Linked DNA regions of Homo sapiens: all the other regions are linked to region 1. Evidence: promoter capture Hi-C in 16 types of primary human blood cells and fetal thymus (Javierre and others, 2016). All regions are on one chromosome and are shown on one strand. Each heading gives the region's core, a stretch centred on a gene start or on the middle of the fragment in contact. The rest is flanking DNA. Distances are from core to core; before and after follow the strand shown.

Region 1 (3,620 bases), core at 361-2,860:
ATCGCTTGAACCCGGGAGGCAGAGGTTGCAGTGAGCTGAGATCGTGCCATTGCACTGCAGCCTGGGCAACAGTGAGACTCTGTCCCAAAAAAAAAAATTGAGAGAGTAGGTCAAAGGTGAAAATATTAGGTAATATAGAGCAGTGTTGCAAAAACATTTTTCAAATCAATACCTTCTTGATAAATTCACATGCTCCTGAAGATTCTTAATTGCTGTGGATCAGAGCACTAATGCAACCCTGTTGTGAGGCTGGGTGCAGTGGCTCACACCTGTAATCCCAGCACTTTGGGAGGCCGAGGCGGGCGGATCACGTGAGATCAGGAGTTCAAGACCAGCCCGGCCAACATGGTGAAACCCCATCTCTTCTAAAAATACAAAAAAAAAAATTAGCTGGGCGTGGTGGCAGGTGCCTGTAATCCCAGCTACTTGGGAGGTTGAGGCAGGAAAATCGCTTGAACCCAGAAGATGGAGGTTGCAAGGAGCTGAGATTGTGCCACTGCACTCCAGCCTGGGCAACAGAGCGAGACTCCATCTCAAAAATAAAAATAAAAAATAACCCTCTTGTGAGAATTATTGATAGGAAGATAAACTAGCTTTTTTGTATCCTTACCTGCTAAGATGATTTCATCAAGTTTCACTTTCTGTAGTTTGTTTCATGAAAACAAGTTTTTTGACTTTGTAAATATAAAATTACAAGGCACAAAATGCATTTTCAAACCATACATAACTCCTCCAGGAGATTGTTACGTCCAATCCCCATCCTCATTGTTGTGAATCCCAGCTTTAGAGAATCCTTATCACAGGTGGTCCCACAGTGCTTGAAGGCTCAGGCCAAAAGAGACAAGGAGATGGGTCTACCGCCCCCATAGAGGAGACCCTTATGGGAGGGACCCCCACAGGTTCCCAGGCCGGTGTTGGTGACCTCATGCACACCCTGGGAGAGGAGAGGTGACCCCACTTACGTCGGCTGGGGCGAAAACGCAGTTGTTTCCTAACTTCTTGGCTTGGGCCTCCCCACCCGAGTTGGGCAGGTCCAGAAGCACAGCAGAGGCTCCCTGCCCCACAAGTCGCTCCGCCGTGGCCAGGCCCAGGCCCGAGGCTCCTCCGGTTATTACCGCCACCAGGCCCTGTCAAAAGGGACATGGTCAGGGTCAGCTGTTACATTGCCCAGACCATCCCCACGCTGTCGCCTGCCTGTTCTCCAGGCTTCTGAGGAGAAGGGGGGAGGGGAGAGGTCGTGGTCACCCCTGCGGGTAAACTAGGTGTGCTGCTTCTCCTCAGCGTTGGGACCTCGGGGGCAGAAGGGATCTCATCCCCAGACAGCCCGTCCCGTGACGATAGATAGATAGATGATTGATAGATAGATAGATAGACAGACAGACAGACAGACAGATGCGCCGCGGAGTGCTGACTTTCACCTCTTGAGCCCAACGGCCACAATACCAGGCCTACATAAGCATGACCCTTTCCCTCGAAACCGATCTCTTTCTCCTAGTTCCACGGCCGCGCTGTCCCGGCCCGTAAAGGAAGGCAAGCAACAGAGGCAAAGAACCTTCTACCTTCACGCTCCGACACGCTGCTGCCATCTTGTCGCCGGCCACTCCACGGGATGGGGATGGGGGCGCGGGCGCTCGTTGATTGGCCGAGGCGAAGCGGCGGAAGGGGCGGATGCGACGGGCCGGGGCGTCTGCCGCTGCCGCATGAGACGTGGGGGCGTGGCCTGGTACGCTAGTCCTTTGGCCAGAGGGCGGATTCCGCCTGCTAAGGTATCCCCAGAGTTATTTCAACTGGGGAAAGAGACCAATAGCAGAAGTACAATACCACAACACCCCTCGCCCTACTCTCTAGCTGGCCTTTTGGCAAGTGGCCTGCTCCGCGTGGGGGAAGAGGGGTGGATATTGAGAACGGATGCCTTTCTCCTCTGAAAAAGTCTTAATTCAAGTATGAATGTATTTGAGACTCCTATATGCTAGACGGTGTGCGGGGCACCTGGGATACCCAGCGGAATAATAAAAGATTCATGCCTTCCAGGAGGGCACAGTCCAGGTGGAGAAAGAGAATTACAGTACAGACACAGACGAATGGACGGAACCAGATTCTGGGACACTCAGACAAGGAGATCCAAAGATGAGGAGTCTGAGTTAGAGAGAGAGAGAGCCATGTAAAGAGAAATATGTTGAGGCCGAGATAGGAAGAGAGATGCCAGGTAGGATCACAGAGAGATGAATGTGGAAAGCCGCTAAGAGAGATGCTTGGAGACAGACATTCTAGGACAGCTGCTGAGAAGCACAAACCTAAAGAGGCAAAAACATCTTTCATCAGTTCAGGCTTTGCTACTCTCCTCTATCTTTGTCTAATTTAAGTCCAAAAGCCCAGATCACACACTGCAGATTGGACTTCAACCAGAGACTATTATTTAAGACCCAGGTCTTTGTCATCCTAGAACATCTTTCAGGCAGCTTCCAGAAGCTATGTCATTAGAGTCTTGAGCCCAGATATCTAATCTGTCTTCCTTCTATACTTTTCCTCAAACCAAGGTCTTCAGGCCATAAATCTTAGCCCACCATTTCAGCCTCAGAACTGCTTTATGTTTTCTCTATCTGAAATATCTCCCCCCACTTGCTTTCTCACCCAGGAAGATTCCCCTCCAGGCCTTCTAGTTGTTGACAGCCACCACACTCATAATCACTACACCGTATTTACCAAAGGATTTAGCACACCGGTCTCACAATTTTCCTATCTACATGAAGTGCTTCCATCAATTTATAGCACTCTTCATCCGGCCCAATATGCTGTAGCCACAGTGGCCTCCTTTGTGTTCATCTTTGCATTAGCTGCTCCCTCTGCTTGGAATGCTCTCCCCTGATCTTTGCATGACTGCTTTTATTTTTTTTCATTCAGAACTAAGCTTAAATATCACCTTCCCAGAGGGGTCCTCCCTAAATATTCAAACTGTAGCCACCTAGACACTATCCCATTGCATATTTGAATTATCTTCATAGCACTTGCATGTCCGTAATCCATTTTCCAACCTTAGGGCCAGATGTGCTGTGGAATTCAGAGTTTTTTTCAATTTGAGAAAGGAAGACATGTAATTTATATTACATAACTCTTTAAAAAAACTAGTCAAACATAACTTTTTGTATAGTCTATATTATATAACTATTGAGAAAAGCCTGGAGCATCGTAATGAAATATTAATATTTCTGAAGTGAAAGGTATGAAAATTCACACCAAGTGTGAATAAAGACTATAAATAGCCTCACACTACTTCAGGTCAGGTTTTGTCATCTATTGAGTTTGGGCTCCAAAGTATGAAAAAACAACCTTATGCTTTTCAGAAGTTTTGGCATTGCAGGATTGTGCCTACAGGCTTGTGAGCCTGCATGCTCCGCTAACCTGGCCTTGTTTGTGTAGTTCTCCCCCTGCTGGAAGGTAAGCCCCATGGCACCAGGGGCTTGTCCAGCTGGTTCACCTAATGCCGAGAACACTGCTTGGCGTGTACAAGACACTTAAAACAAATGTGTGAAATAAATGAATTAATGAATTAATCTTGGAAGAATTTCCAGGCACAGTTTCATGATTCTTTCACCTGCCCAACTCCGGGAACCTTCACCTCC
Region 2 (3,460 bases), core at 173-2,672, 170 kb before region 1:
CCCCCGTCCCCACCCCCACACTTGCTTCTCTCTCCATTCAGCGGAAGGGTAGAATGGTCTCCTCGTCCCCAGCCCCAGGTCACCTACATTCACACACCCTGGAGAGCAGAATAAACAGAGTAATGTACCCACCATTCCCCTGCATGACCCTGGAGCGCTCCCCCAGGTTTTTGTCTATGCGGTCCCTGTCTCCTATAATGCCTTCTCACCCCTTGCCACCTTTTCAAACCCTTACCAGCCTTCAAGGCTCAACTCTTGCACCTCTTCCTCCAGCAAGCCCTCCTGGACACCACACCTCCCCACCCACCTTGACATCTCCTTCCTCTCTGGGCCAGGAACAAAATGTGCTCATTACTGAAGCCGTTCCTGTCCAATCATGTTAACCCTTTGCATCCTTCCTACTTTCCCAAAGGATTTCTCATCTCTCATCTCCCCTGGGAGATGGAGAGCTCGCAGAGGACACAGCCACTGTCATGCTTAAAAAAAAAAAAAAATCTTTTTGTAGAGATGAGATCTCACTATGTTGCCCAGGCTGATCTGAAACTCCTGGCCTCAAGCCATCTGCCTGTCTCAGCCTCCCAAAGGGCTAGGATTACAGGTGTGAGCCACCACACCTGGCCTCTGTCTTACTTTGGATCTCTCACAGTATTTAGCGTCAGGTCTTATACCCAGTAAGGGCTCAAACAATGCTTTGTTGAGTAGAATGAGGAAGAGTAAATAAGGGAGACAGGCAGGGAGGGAGGGGAGAAATAAATGAGACTTTGAATGGGTGAATGAGTAGATGAGTTGAGCGAGTGAGGCAATAAGTGAGGGAAGGAGGTGAGGTTCTAGGAAACCTAGAGGTTCAATGTGATAGAGATGCTGAAGGGAGGGAGGAAAGAAAAGACAGGAGAAAACTCTCACCTGGGCCTTAATCAAAACAAGAGCCACCAATCACAGCACACTTGCCCAACAGTGCACAAGCTCCTATGCTGGGCTCGTTGTGTTCTTTCTTGCTAATCTTCATGACAACCCAGAGAGGTAGGTATATTCTCACTGTACTCAGGAGGAAAACAAAGCTCAAGGAGAAGAAAAAACTTGCTCAAGGTTATACAGATGTAAGTGGCAGAACCAGAAGGTAAACTCAGATTTGTCTAATACCAAAGGCTCAGACAGGAAAAGTCGGGGGTATGAGCCCACTTCAGACACATCATGGAAGGTGTGAGTCCTACAAACCCGTAAAGGACATCTTCCACCCTCCAGCTGAGAGCCTCCAGGGAGTCTTAGAACCAGCCTCTGCCCAGGTGCAGGGAATATTTAGGGTCGTTGCATTGGAGGGAAATGGCTTCCTCTCAGATTCAGAGATCCCTAAAGTTGTAGAATCAGAACCTTAAAAGTAAACGATCAAGGAATCTAAACATTGCAGAATATTAAAATTGCATCATCAGAATTTGTTCAAATGGTAGAATTATGCAATCTTAAAACCACAGGACTGGAAAATCCCAAAATCACTGCATTGTAGAAATAGAAATCATAAAATTGCAGTGGAATGTGTCACTGAATCATTGTCTATTAAATTCACATAATCATAGCTTCTTAAAACTGTAGCATCTCAGATTCACAAAATGTCACAGCTGGAAGAGTCATTGGAGACCCTCTAATCCAACCCTTCTCCTTTTTATAGATGTCAAAGAGGTCATGCGACACATCCAAGGTTAGCCTGCCCGTGTTGGGAGTCATTCATGCATTTATTGAGTGCCTCCTGGGTGTTGACAAAACCACGAATCAAACCCTACTCTCTTTCCCGGCCCCTATTCCCAGCCCTGGATAGGAAAGAAGGCAAGGCCCTGGTGGGGATTGGAAGAGGGAAGTGGGGGTGGGTGGAATATACATCAGACAGAGAGAAGAGATCAGCTTTTATTGATGGAAATTCCTTTGTACACAGCAACACGCACTCTGAGAGGCCTTTTCCTCCTGATAATATTTACAGAGCACTATGGGAGTGGCAGAGGGCATGGGGTGAGGCCTTCAAGCAGTGGAGGAGATGGCAGCAATGGCCACAGCAAGGGAACAAACGACAGGGAACTAGGCAGGCTGGGTCCTGCCCCCGTCTGGTCCTCTGAGCCCTAGGCACCCTGCATCTCTGTTTGTGCTCACAGAGGACAGAGGTAGGTCCTTGGGATGTCATTTGGAGACCTCTCCAGTAGTGGCAGGCTCCAGGGTGCCTGGGAAGTGGGAGTGCGGGTACGGGAGGATCCAGGTTCCAAGCTCCAAGCTCCAAGCTCTGCTTCTCCCACATTTTAGTCGGACCTAGGGCTCCAGCTCTCTTTAATTCAGGGGCTGGAGTCCAGAGGAGACAGCAGTGGGGATGGGAATTCCAAGAAGAAGGTGGGGGGAGGAAGGGGCACGATGCTTGCCCATCTGGTTCCTGAAGCAGGGGACAGGGTCCCATGGGGGAATCTGCGGGGGGGTGGGTGGGGGGAAGGAGGGGCTGGTTAAGGCTTTTGCTTCTGCATAGAAAATGGCCCTTGTCCTCTCAGTTACCGAGAGGAGGGACTACTGCACTCGGAGGCCGGACAGCAGAACTGGTGAGCGTCTTCCTCTTCCTCTTCCTCAGTCTCCTCCTCCTCCTCCTCTTCCCTGGGGCCAGGAAGGGCGGGGTAGAGGCCACAGGCGGTGGGTGACAGAGAGAGGCAGAGGCATTAGTTTGCAGAGCAGGGGAGATACGCGAAGGGCCAGGACCGGAACCAGAAGGTGGGACGAGAATGGGGGTCAGGGTGGGGAGGCCAGTGTGATGGATTATCCAGGGTCACACCCAACTCAGTGTGCTGGGACAGCCCTCCCCCACACCCAGCCTGGGCTCAGTCTTAAGGTCACCCTCAGCGTATATCAACTCCCTTTCTAACCCTGCCAGGTGCCTGACCCTCATTTTAATATAATAACAGCAACCTGCTCTCATTTTGCACGCATCATCTCACTTAGCCCCTACAACAGCTCTGCAGAGGAGCATTTTAGAGATGAGGGAATTAAAACTCAGAAAGGTTAGATAACTTGCTCTAGGTCACACAGCTGGGTAAGTGGTAGAGTCAGGATTTGAACCCAGAGTTTTTGGAGCTCCAAGTCTCAGACTCATCCCACTAGGTCCTTTGGGTGAACTTGGCACTATCTCTAGAAACCCACCCTGCTCTTGAAGGACAAGGATTTGTATTTCCTGAAGGTTCAGGCTCAGGAAAATGGGAGATACTTGGAAATGGAGTACGGAAAGCCCACAGCTTTGGAAGCAAACAGACCTGGGTTCAAATCCCAGCTCTACAAGTGGTTCCAGGCTATATGCCCTTGAGCGCATTATTGTCACTCTTGGAGCCTCAGTTTCCTCGTCTGTAAAAATGGGGCTCGTGATGTGAACCTCCCAGGACTGTTGCAAGAACTAGAACATATATCAAGTGTCTGGCAAACACCAGCAATGGGAACATGGTGGTGA
Region 3 (3,119 bases), core at 277-2,776, 190 kb before region 1:
CAGGCTGAAAATGGTCTCTCTCTCCTTTCTCCTCTCCTAAACTGGACCATAAAGCAGAAGTATTATATGTGTCTTTGTTTCACACCCCGACTGGTCTGTGAGTGCCCCCAAGGATAGAGAACACGTCTGATTCATATCTATGAATGCCCAGCACCAACTCTGGTGCCCAGCAAATGCTGGGCTCAGTGGAAAGGCATCCACAAATGTTTGTTGGCTAAAGCGTTTTCTTTTTTTTTTTCTTTTTTTGAGACGGAGTCTTGCTCTGTGGCCCCAGGCTGGAGTGCGTTGGCACGATCTCAGCTCACTGCAACCTCCGCCTCCCGGGTTCAAGCAATTCTCCTGCCTCAGCCTCCTGAGTAGCTGGAACTCCAGGCATGCACCATCACGCCCGCAGCTAATTTTTGTATTTTTAGTAGAGACAGGGTTTTGCCATGATAGCCAGGCTGGTCTGGAACTCCTGACCTGAGGTGATCCACCCACCTCGGCCTCCCAAAGTGCTGGGATTACAGGCACAAGCCATTGTACCTGGCCTAAAGTGTGTTCTTACTTTGGTTTTCTGCTAACCATTAGCTTGGCTCTTCACTTAGGATGGACAGGCAAAGCCGGAGGTGAAAAGGATGCTAATATTTATATAGTACCCACTATGGGCCTTGGAATGTGCTCGATGCATTCACTCTGCACCACAGCCTTCTGAGGAATGCATTATCACCCACTCTGTATTGCAGGTAAAGGGCACCTGGGGCTCAGGGAGGTGCAGTGACTTACCACTTAGTGGCAGAGGCAGACCTGAACCCTGGCCCCTCTGCAGCCTCCCAAGGCACTTACTGGTTTCTTTCCAACAATCATGCGCTCCACAGCCTGCACCTGGGACACATGGTCATCGTTGGTCCGCAGTTCACGCCCCTGGATGCGCTGGTAGATGCCCACCAGGAGGTCTCGGGGGATGTCTTCACCATTGTCAACCCCTGGGGGAGGGAGTAACACAGGGATATGTCACATAATTATGGGCACTGGGTGGTAGGGGTGCTCCACCACCCCCACACCCAGGCACGGGCCACGATAGTCAGGACTGAGGGTCAATGGGTACCCTCGGCCCCTTAGCCAGGATTGGGGCAGGGAGGGTGTCCTTCAGTACAACAGCCAGTTGCTATCTTCCCCAGAGTGGGGAATTTTTTCTCAACAACTCAGAATACACTGTAATTAAAACAATCAGATACTATTGTTTGCCTTCCTAATTAGCAAAAATAATTTAAAATGAAATCCAGTGCTAGGAAGAGTGCAGGGAAGTGGGCATGTATGGTAACATAACTCTTTTGGAAGGTAATTTGGCAAGAACCTAAATGTTTGTACCCAGTGATTCTCTTCTAGGAATCTACCCTAAGGAACTACTCAGAAATATGTGCAAGAGGTATGTGCAAGAATGCTAGTGCAGGCGGGGCATGGTGGCTCACGCCTGTACTCCCAGCACTTTGGGAGGCCGAGGCAGGTGGATCACGAGGTCAGGAGATCAAGACCATCCTGGCCAACATGGTGAAACCTCATCTGTACTAAAAATACAAAAAATTAGCCAGGCATGGCACCATGTGCCTGTAGTCCCAGGTACTCGGGAGGCTGAGGCAGAATTGCTTGAACCCGGGAGGCAGAGGCTGTAGTGAGCCAAGATCGCGCCACTGCACTCCAGCCTGAGCAACAAGATTGAGACTCTGTCTCAAAAAAAAAAAAAAGAAAAAGAAAAAAAAGAATGCTAGGGCAGGCGTGGTATAATCCCAGCACTTTGGGAGGCTGAGGCAGGTGGATCGCTCGAGCCCAGGAATTCGAGAGCCAACCTGGGCAACATGGCAAAATCCCATCTCTACAAAAAATACAAAAATTAGCTGGGTGTGGTGGCACACACCTGTGGCCCCAGCTACTTGGGAGGCTGAAGTGGGATAATAGCTTGAGCCTGGGAGGAGGAGGTTGCAGTGAACCATGATTGCACCACTGCACTCCAGCCTAGGCAACAGAGCAAGACCCTGTCTCAAAAAAAAAAAAAAAAAACTCACTAAGTGTTACTTATGGGGACAATTTGAAACAACCTAAATTTTAACAATAGAGGATAGTATATCCATTTAATAAGATAATGCACAGCTATTAAAAACTTGACATTTACAAAAACATTTCAATAGCATGAGAAAATTACAGTAGCAAATTATGGGAAAAGAGTAAGATAAATTGCATGTGTGGTATGATCTGAACTATATAAAAAGTTACATATGCATGGGGGAAAAGATTAGAACGCACCAAAACATTAACTATGATTGCCTCTAGGGGGCACATTTTGGGTGATAAAAAGAAATTTTCTAATTTTCTGAATCTTCCAACATTTCTGAAATAAAGTATGTATTACCTTCATTTATTTGCTTATTTATTTAATAATTAGAGGGGGAAGTTACACATACACACACACACACCCACACACACACACACATATATTGAGAGAGAGAGGGAAAAAGAATGGATGAATGAATGATGGCAAAATTCTAGGAGACAGCTCCAAATGGCCTCTGATCTAACTCCCTCCTCCCATGTTCACCATCCTTCTCCACTTCTGATTGCTGAGTGAAACCCACTCACTCTTCTCTCTAAATCCTCTACTAGAGAAAATGTTTTCTGGGCAGGACGTGGAGGCTCACACCTGTAATCCCAGCACTTTGGGAGGCCGAGTTGAGGCAAGGAGTTTGAGACCAGCCTGGGCAACCTAGCAAGACCCTGTCTCTACAAAAAATTTAGAAATTAGTTGGGCATGGTGGCACGCGCCTATAGTCCCAGCTACTTAGGAGGCTGAGGTGGGAGGATCGCTTGAGCCCAGGAGTTCAAGGCTGCAGTGAGCTCTGCTAGCACCACTGCAATCCAGCCTGGGTGAGAGAGTGAGACCCTGTCTCTAAAAATAAAAAAAAAAAAAACAAATAAAATAAAAAAACAGAAAACAAAAAAAATGTTTTCTTCCTTGGAAATGTCACATCTCCTCCTTGGACAGGTGCTAAAGGAACATACTACATCGCACTGACTTTCTTACCAGAGCAGCCACAGCGGCACAAACCTGATGGGCAGCCAATTTGTCTTGTGTTCAGTTTGCTTTT
Region 4 (3,539 bases), core at 33-2,532, 130 kb before region 1:
TACCTCTCAATCCTGAGCACTGCTGGGATTCTCTAAGTAGAATAGTTTACTTCTGGTCAGCATCCCAGACCTTATGTGTTTCTACCTTTTTTACTCCTTTTTTCATATTTTAATGAGATTTGGGAAAGCAACAGAGAGAAATAAGTTTATCCAACTCATTGTGTTTAACAGGAAGCTCCCTTTCTTATTCCAGCCAACTCCTATTCATCCTCCATGACCCATTTAGGCACCACCTCCTCCAGGAAGCGTATCTTAACATCCCTAGGCTGGGTTAGGAGCCCCTCCTCTGTTCTCCCACAGTATCCTTTTCTTGACTCCATCACAGCCCTGATCAAACTGTTCTGAAATTGTCTATTTCCATGGCTGACTCTCCCAGCGACTGGGAGCTCCTGGTAGTCAGGCGCTCTGTCTCATTCCTGCTTGGACCCCCAGATCTCAGAGTCTGGCTTCCAGGCGTATGGAGTAAATATGTGGTGACGAAATTAATGAATAAATGAATGACTAAATAAACGAATTGGACCCAGCTAGAGGGACCATCTAGAAAGGGAAATAAGCTGAATACAATTGTCCCTATATAAGGTCAATTCCCTAAAAGCTGTAAGTTCCTTTGATGCTGTGTGTGCAAGGAAGCCTATCGCAGCATGATTTAAACCAGTGAAAAAAATGAGCACAGCTTCTACACCCTACATTAAGAGGATGGTTAAGTCCATCGTGGTATATCAGTTGCCACTAAAAATGATGGTTATGAAGAATATGCAATGACATGGGAAATGCTCAAATGGAAAAATCAAGAACAAAAATTGTATGTGTAAAATCATTTCAACTACATGAAAAAAATGCAGAGAACAAGGGCAAATACACCAGATGCTCAGAGTGGCTGCCTCTGGGTGCTGTAATTATGTGTAATGTTTTTCTCCTCTACTTTTCCTAGTTTTTCTAAATTTCCTAATTTAAAAATGCATTGAAAGTATAATTTTTTAAACGCTACTAAGAAATTAAATTGGTTAAGTAGCCTGAGAGTACTGGGAACAAAATACTGTGAGGCGGGGGGCATAAGAATCAGTGCACATGTCCACCAGGGCTTGCTGGGAAAGCTCTATTCTTCACCGGCCACAGCCTCTGAAGGCCCAGGCCCACAGAACACCCCCTGCTCCCTTCCCTGCAAAGCAGGACCTAGCTCAGGAAGCCAAAGGAGGAGGATCTTGGAGGCCAGCCTATTACGAATCACAATCTTATGGGTTGTACTGATAAACAGAAGGCCCTACACTGGGGCCCACATTTTAGGGGCCACTCTCCATCAGGCAAAAGGTCTGTAATGCCATCAGGACCCATAAGGATCTTTGGCCCTGTCCCTTCTAGGCTGCACTTCAAGCACCAAGGACCTCAGAATTTCCTGCCTAAATTTCTTGGGCTTACTTTCAGGAATTGCATGGTCTTATTACCCAGGTCCATCTGTTAGGACCAAGGAGCGGCCTAAGGGGAAGGGGAGATAGACAGGGCTTGGAGGTGTTGGCTGGGGTATCCACATATCTCAAGGCTCCATATGAACTATGGGAGGGAAGAGAAGTGTGGAGGGCCAAGGGCTTCAACTGGTAACTTGCTTGGGCCCTAGAAATGTAGAGGCAGGCAAGTCTATAGAGCCTTAGGCCTCAGGGTTTGTAGAAGGCCCTAGCCTTCACAGATCTGGGTTCAAATCCATTCATTTGCTGTGCAACCCATGGATGAATCCATTCTCCTCTCTGAACTTAGTTTCCCCAACTATAAAATAGGCATAATAATTCTGACTTCAGAGAATTGTGTTGAGGTTTGTAGAATGACAGTAGTTATGAGTCCAGGCTTTAGGTCAGACAGGCCTGGATTTGGGTCTCAGCTCTGCCTCTTCCAGCTATGCGATTTATGACCCTAAGTTTCAGTTTCTTCATCAATGTAATGGAGATAATAATAGCACTAATATGATACGGTTGTTGGGAGGATTATGGTTATAAAGAATATGTGATAACATTGGAAAATGCTTAAATGAGAAAATGCTGCTTAATAATGGTTGTGCAAACACTGGCTGTGGTGGAGCTGACTGGGCCTTCTGCAATCCCCAGGCTCATGCAGCTTTATTTTCCCCATAGCACTTACCACTACTTGACATATTATGTGTCTTCTTGTTTATTTGTTTCTTTTCCACACCCATCCCAGACATCCATACACTAGAATCTCAGCTCCACAGGGCAGAGGTTTTGTCTATTTTGCTCACTGTTTCCAAGTGCCTTGAACAGTGTGAGGTACTTAGATGTTCTTCAAATTTGAATAGTTAGCCAGGCGTGGTGGCACCAGAGAGAAATAAGTTTCTAGGCCTCCCTCAGCTACTAGGGAGGCTGAGGCAGGAGGATCACTTGAGCCCAGGAATTTGAGGCTTCAGCGAGCTATGATCATGCCACTGCACTCTAGCCTGGGCAACAGAGCACAACCCTATGTCAAAAAAAAAAGTTAACTGGTTATCTGCCATGTAGACAAGGGTAAAAAGGCATTTGGGGCCAGGCACGGCGGCTCATGCCTATAATCCCAGCACTTTAGGAAGCCAAGGCGGGAGGACCGCTTGAGCCCAGGAGTTTGAGACCAGCCTGGGGATCACAGGGAGATCCCGTCTCTACAATGAAATAAAAATTAGCCAGGCATTTTAGTGTGTGCCTATAGTCCCAGCTACTCGGGAGGTTAAAGTGAGAGGATTGCTTGAGCCCAGGTCGAGACCAGCCTGGGCAACATAGCAAAACTCTGTCTCTACAAAAATACAAAAATTAGGTGGGCATGATGGTGTGTGCCTATAGTCCCAGCTACTCAGGAGGCTGAGATGGGAAGACTGCCTCAGCCCAAGAGTTTGAGACAAGCCTGGACAACACAGGGAGACCCTGTCCCTACAAACAACCAAAAAATTAGCCAGGTGTGGTGGCCTATGCCTGTGGTCCCAGCTACTTGGGAGGCTGGAGTGGGAGGATCACTTGAGCCCAGGAGGTAGAGGCTGCAGTGAGCCGTGATCACACCATTGCACTCCAGCCTGGGAGACACAGTGAGACTCTGTCAAAAAAAAAAAAAAAGGGCATTTAGCCATAGGAACAGCCAGAATAAAGTCATGGAAGCATAAAGAAGCCTGACATGCTTAGCAAACTCTACATAGTTCAGTACAACTTGAGTGTAGGGTTAGGAAGGAAACAGAGTGACTTGAGGAATGAGTGGAGCTGTAGCCTTACCCAAAGGAGCATGCAAGCACTTCCCTAAACCACAAGTGGCGTGAAGACCTACTTGTGACAGCGAGGAAGGAGAAAAGCACTAGGGGGAGGTAAAGATGATTCCCAAGTTCAAGTGACACCTAAATCATGACAATGTAAAAAGTAAAAGTAGGCCGGGCGTGGTGGTTCACATCTGTAATCCCAGCTCTTTGGGAGGCCAAGGCGGGTGAATTGCCTGAGGTCAGGGGTTGGAGACCAGCCTGGCCAACATGGTAAAACCCCATCTCTACTACAAATACAAAAATTAGCCAGGCATGATGGTGG
Region 5 (3,184 bases), core at 168-2,667, 230 kb before region 1:
ATATATATTCCACAGGCCTATCTCATTTTACTAAGGCAGAAACTAAGTCTCAGGGTCAGTAACTTGCCAAACTGAGTTAATTTTGACTCTAAAGCCAGAGAATATTCTAAGGATGAAGTCTCTAGGGTTTTTTTGGACTACAGACTCCTGAGAATTGGATGTAAACTATAAGTCCTCTTCCCAGAAACATACTTAAATACACATACAATCTCTTACAGGATTCCAAGACTATGGTGTCCAGAATGCTTCTCTGAGGTAAGGGCCAAGTGTGAAGAATTCTGAATGTCAAGATGAGAAGGTCTATTCTCCCCACCTTGCTTTGGCTCCTTCCCACAGCTTGGCACAGCCACACGGCCATCATTTAATAACAGTACTGAACAGAGTGAGAAAATGATGCCTGGAAAAGCCCAGGGACTCAACAACTTACACCACGACTGAGAGGCCCCAGACTTCCAACACTACTGTAGCTATAGTTCTCCCTATAGCCCACACTCACAGGAAAGCTATAAATGAGCTTTAAAATAAGAAAGTATTACCCTAGATAGGCAGCAAGGGATCCCACAGAACCAGCACTCCTTTGTAATCTTATGAAAGACTCTCACAAAGTCAATTCCCTAACTGGGCAAGTGTGAAATTTGAAGATGATGGCTGAAACTACACGAGTGGACTTTAGAGCTCTGTAGCAGCTTCCACTCAGCTACACACACAACTGACACAAGCTTACAAGAAATCAATTAAAGCAGGACCACCTTCAGCTTGGTAATATTATTGCCCTAGCTGGAGTTAATAAACCATCTGCATGTAATAAAATGGCAATTCCTGAGAAACATTCCAAATTTCAATCAGTTTCTTCATGTATTAACATTACCAATAATAGCAGCTGCAACATTGCAAAGGCAATGTTAGAGAGATGGCTTTCATATAAATCACCTTACTCTAACCTTACATCTTGCAAGTTAGGTATTTATTCCCACTTTAGAGTAGGAAAGTGAGATATGAAAGATCAAGTAACTTGATACAGTCACCTAGATAATCAGCAGTGAGGTTTCATATGCCAGTCTATTTTGCTAGGTCATGTAAATAATGATAAATAGCTGCTATACCAGTACCTGCCATGGGTCAGTCACTAAGCAAACATTATCTTTAATACAATCAACTATCCAAAAAGATAAGCATTATCATAATCCCATTTTTCAGAGGGGAAAACTGACAATGAAGTAAATCGACTTAAGGTTGCTGGTAAAGGGTATAGCAGAGAATGGTATGTGGTTTTCAATCGAGATGCATCTAGTTCTTTTCACTATACGCCAAGAGTAGAGGCTACATCTTCTTGGTGCTGCCTCTGCCTCCCCGAACTTCCACCAGAATAGGGTGCTTGATCTGGGGTACTCTCCCCACCTTCTCCAGCAGGGCCTTTCGTAGACGCCGCTCTTCTTGCACCATGATGAACATCTCCTTATGCACAGCTGCCGCCAGGTTCAGGTCTAGCTTCTCTGGGCAGGCAGCCATCTTGCAGATAAGCTCCTCATGGGAGAAGACGCAGTATCTCCGGAGCCGGCGGTAGTGCTCAATGCACTGGCGCCCAGCAGGCAACTGTGGGCAGGTTCAAGGTTGAGTGTGGCCAAGTCTGGAGGCCATGATGCCCCAGCTTCTCTACAACCCTCCTGCTTCTCCCCACCATCCCACCACATTCTAGACTCACCCAGTCAGCAGTGCAAAAGTTGACAGCCTCGGCAAAGTTGTAGCCTTGGTTGAAGCCGCTGTGGTAAGCACGGGGGAAGGTGATGACAAACTCTCCTGCACACTGGTTTGTGCGGACAACCTGAAGAACACAAAAGGCCATGGCTGTTGAGATAGAGATTTTCCTGTATACAGACCTGACTTAAGTGCAAGGTAATTAAGGAGACAAAGAAAAGCCTCAGGGAACACAGTCTGACAACAGAATCCCAGACTCTCCAACTCTGAAAGGAAGGACCACTGGTCTCTGCTCTCAAGGTTTTGATGTGTGTTGAGATGATAGGAAGATTTGAGATTAAAAAATATATCTGTCAAAATATTCCAACTTCCTTAGTAATTTTTGCAAAAATTATAAATATCACTTTTAATCAAGCTGGACAAGCTTTTTTAGTTATTTACTTTCATCAGTTATATATGCAGTTTGTAGAGTCAAATGGCTCTATAAAGATCTGTTATAAAATCAGCCAGCCTTGCCATTCTCCCTTCCCCACAGCCAATCACTTCCACCTCTTCTGATTATTTTGGCGTTGATTATAACTACCTTAAATAACATGCTTCTAGACTATGTTAAAAACAGCCTCCTGTTTCTCAATTTGCTCAGTTTTTTATGCATATATCCCTAATTTTCTGACCAATATTTAAATCTCTTTTCCTATCAATTTTCATCTTTCTGTAGCAGTCTCATGCAACCTTCTGATCTGTCCCAATCTGGACCAGCTGTCCTCCCTGGATCATCACTCTCTTGTGACAGATCTCCTATTTCCTAGATCCCACGTCTTCCTCTTTCTTGGTTTATTCCTTTGCTATGCTTAAGAACATCCTCCAACAGTTTCCTGAGAAATGGTGTGAAGAACCTACTTTTCTTTTTTTAAAGAAAGTCTCTATTCTTACTCTCACACTTGACTGTATATAGAATTCTAAGATGAAAATCCTTTTTTTTTTTTTTTGAGACGGAGTCTCGCTCTGCCGCCCAGGCTGGAGTGCAGTGGCACGATCTCGGCTCACTGCAAGGTCCGCCTCCCGGGTTCACGCCATTCTCCTGCCTCAGCCTCTCCGAATAGCTGGGACTACAGACGCCTGCCACCACGCCCGGCTAATTTTTTGTATTTTTAGTAGAGATGGGGTTTCACCGTGGTCTCGATCTCCTGACCTCGTGATCCGCCCGCCTCGGCCTCCCAAAGTGCTGGGATTACAAGTGTGAGCCACCGCGCCCGGCAAAAATCCTTTTTTTAAAAACTCCCATAGTTGTTGACTCAGAAAATAATTTTAAAGGCACACTGCTCTGATCTTCTAGTGTTACTGTTGAAAAGTTCGAAGCCATTCTGATTTCTAATGCTTGATAAGCATTTGAAACCTGTTTCTCTCTCTCTCGAGCTTATAGGATTCTTCTGGTCTCAGTGTTTGACATGGAAATTTACAGGATATATCTTGGTATGAATTTCTTTTC

The links. Contacts are between HindIII fragments. The CHiCAGO score rates a contact against its expected background, and 5 or more counts as called.
Region 2: a fragment that was not itself captured here is called in contact with the fragment with the promoter of HSD17B10 in region 1 in 5 of 17 cell types (monocytes, M2 macrophages, M1 macrophages and 2 more); the score reaches 6.9 in monocytes.
Region 3: a fragment that was not itself captured here is called in contact with the fragment with the promoter of HSD17B10 in region 1 in 3 of 17 cell types (M0 macrophages, megakaryocytes and M2 macrophages); the score reaches 6.2 in M0 macrophages.
Region 4: a fragment that was not itself captured here is called in contact with the fragment with the promoter of HSD17B10 in region 1 in 10 of 17 cell types (megakaryocytes, M2 macrophages, total CD8 T cells and 7 more); the score reaches 7.3 in megakaryocytes.
Region 5: a contact is called between a fragment that was not itself captured here and the fragment with the promoter of HSD17B10 in region 1, in 3 of 17 cell types (monocytes, M0 macrophages and erythroblasts). The highest score is 5.8, in monocytes.

Annotation. Positions count from the first base shown.
Region 1 is chrX:53,432,760-53,436,379 of GRCh38, forward strand. It overlaps HSD17B10 (hydroxysteroid 17-beta dehydrogenase 10), which reads right to left and starts at 1,611. Exons shown (of 6, transcript NM_004493.3): 1 at 1,560-1,611; 2 at 963-1,127. The coding sequence starts at 1,586. The HindIII fragment of the contact is 11,572 bases long and covers 1-2,906 here.
Region 2 is chrX:53,264,446-53,267,905 of GRCh38, forward strand. All of the region lies in intron 2 of IQSEC2 (IQ motif and Sec7 domain ArfGEF 2), which reads right to left. Among named protein-coding and RNA genes, the nearest start is that of KDM5C, 41 kb to the left of the region's middle. The HindIII fragment of the contact is 7,501 bases long and covers 1-3,460 here.
Region 3 is chrX:53,242,507-53,245,625 of GRCh38, forward strand. It overlaps IQSEC2 (IQ motif and Sec7 domain ArfGEF 2), which reads right to left. Exons shown (of 15, transcript NM_001111125.3): 9 at 826-965. Among named protein-coding and RNA genes, the nearest start is that of KDM5C, 19 kb to the left of the region's middle. The HindIII fragment of the contact is 9,178 bases long and covers 1-3,119 here.
Region 4 is chrX:53,300,133-53,303,671 of GRCh38, forward strand. The region is part of intron 1 of IQSEC2 (IQ motif and Sec7 domain ArfGEF 2); the gene reads right to left. Among named protein-coding and RNA genes, the nearest start is that of IQSEC2, 19 kb to the right of the region's middle. The HindIII fragment of the contact is 5,804 bases long and covers 1-3,539 here.
Region 5 is chrX:53,200,152-53,203,335 of GRCh38, forward strand. KDM5C (lysine demethylase 5C) reads right to left here. Exons shown (of 26, transcript NM_004187.5): 13 at 1,703-1,822; 14 at 1,399-1,593. Among named protein-coding and RNA genes, the nearest start is that of MIR6894, 2.8 kb to the left of the region's middle. The HindIII fragment of the contact is 1,400 bases long and covers 718-2,117 here.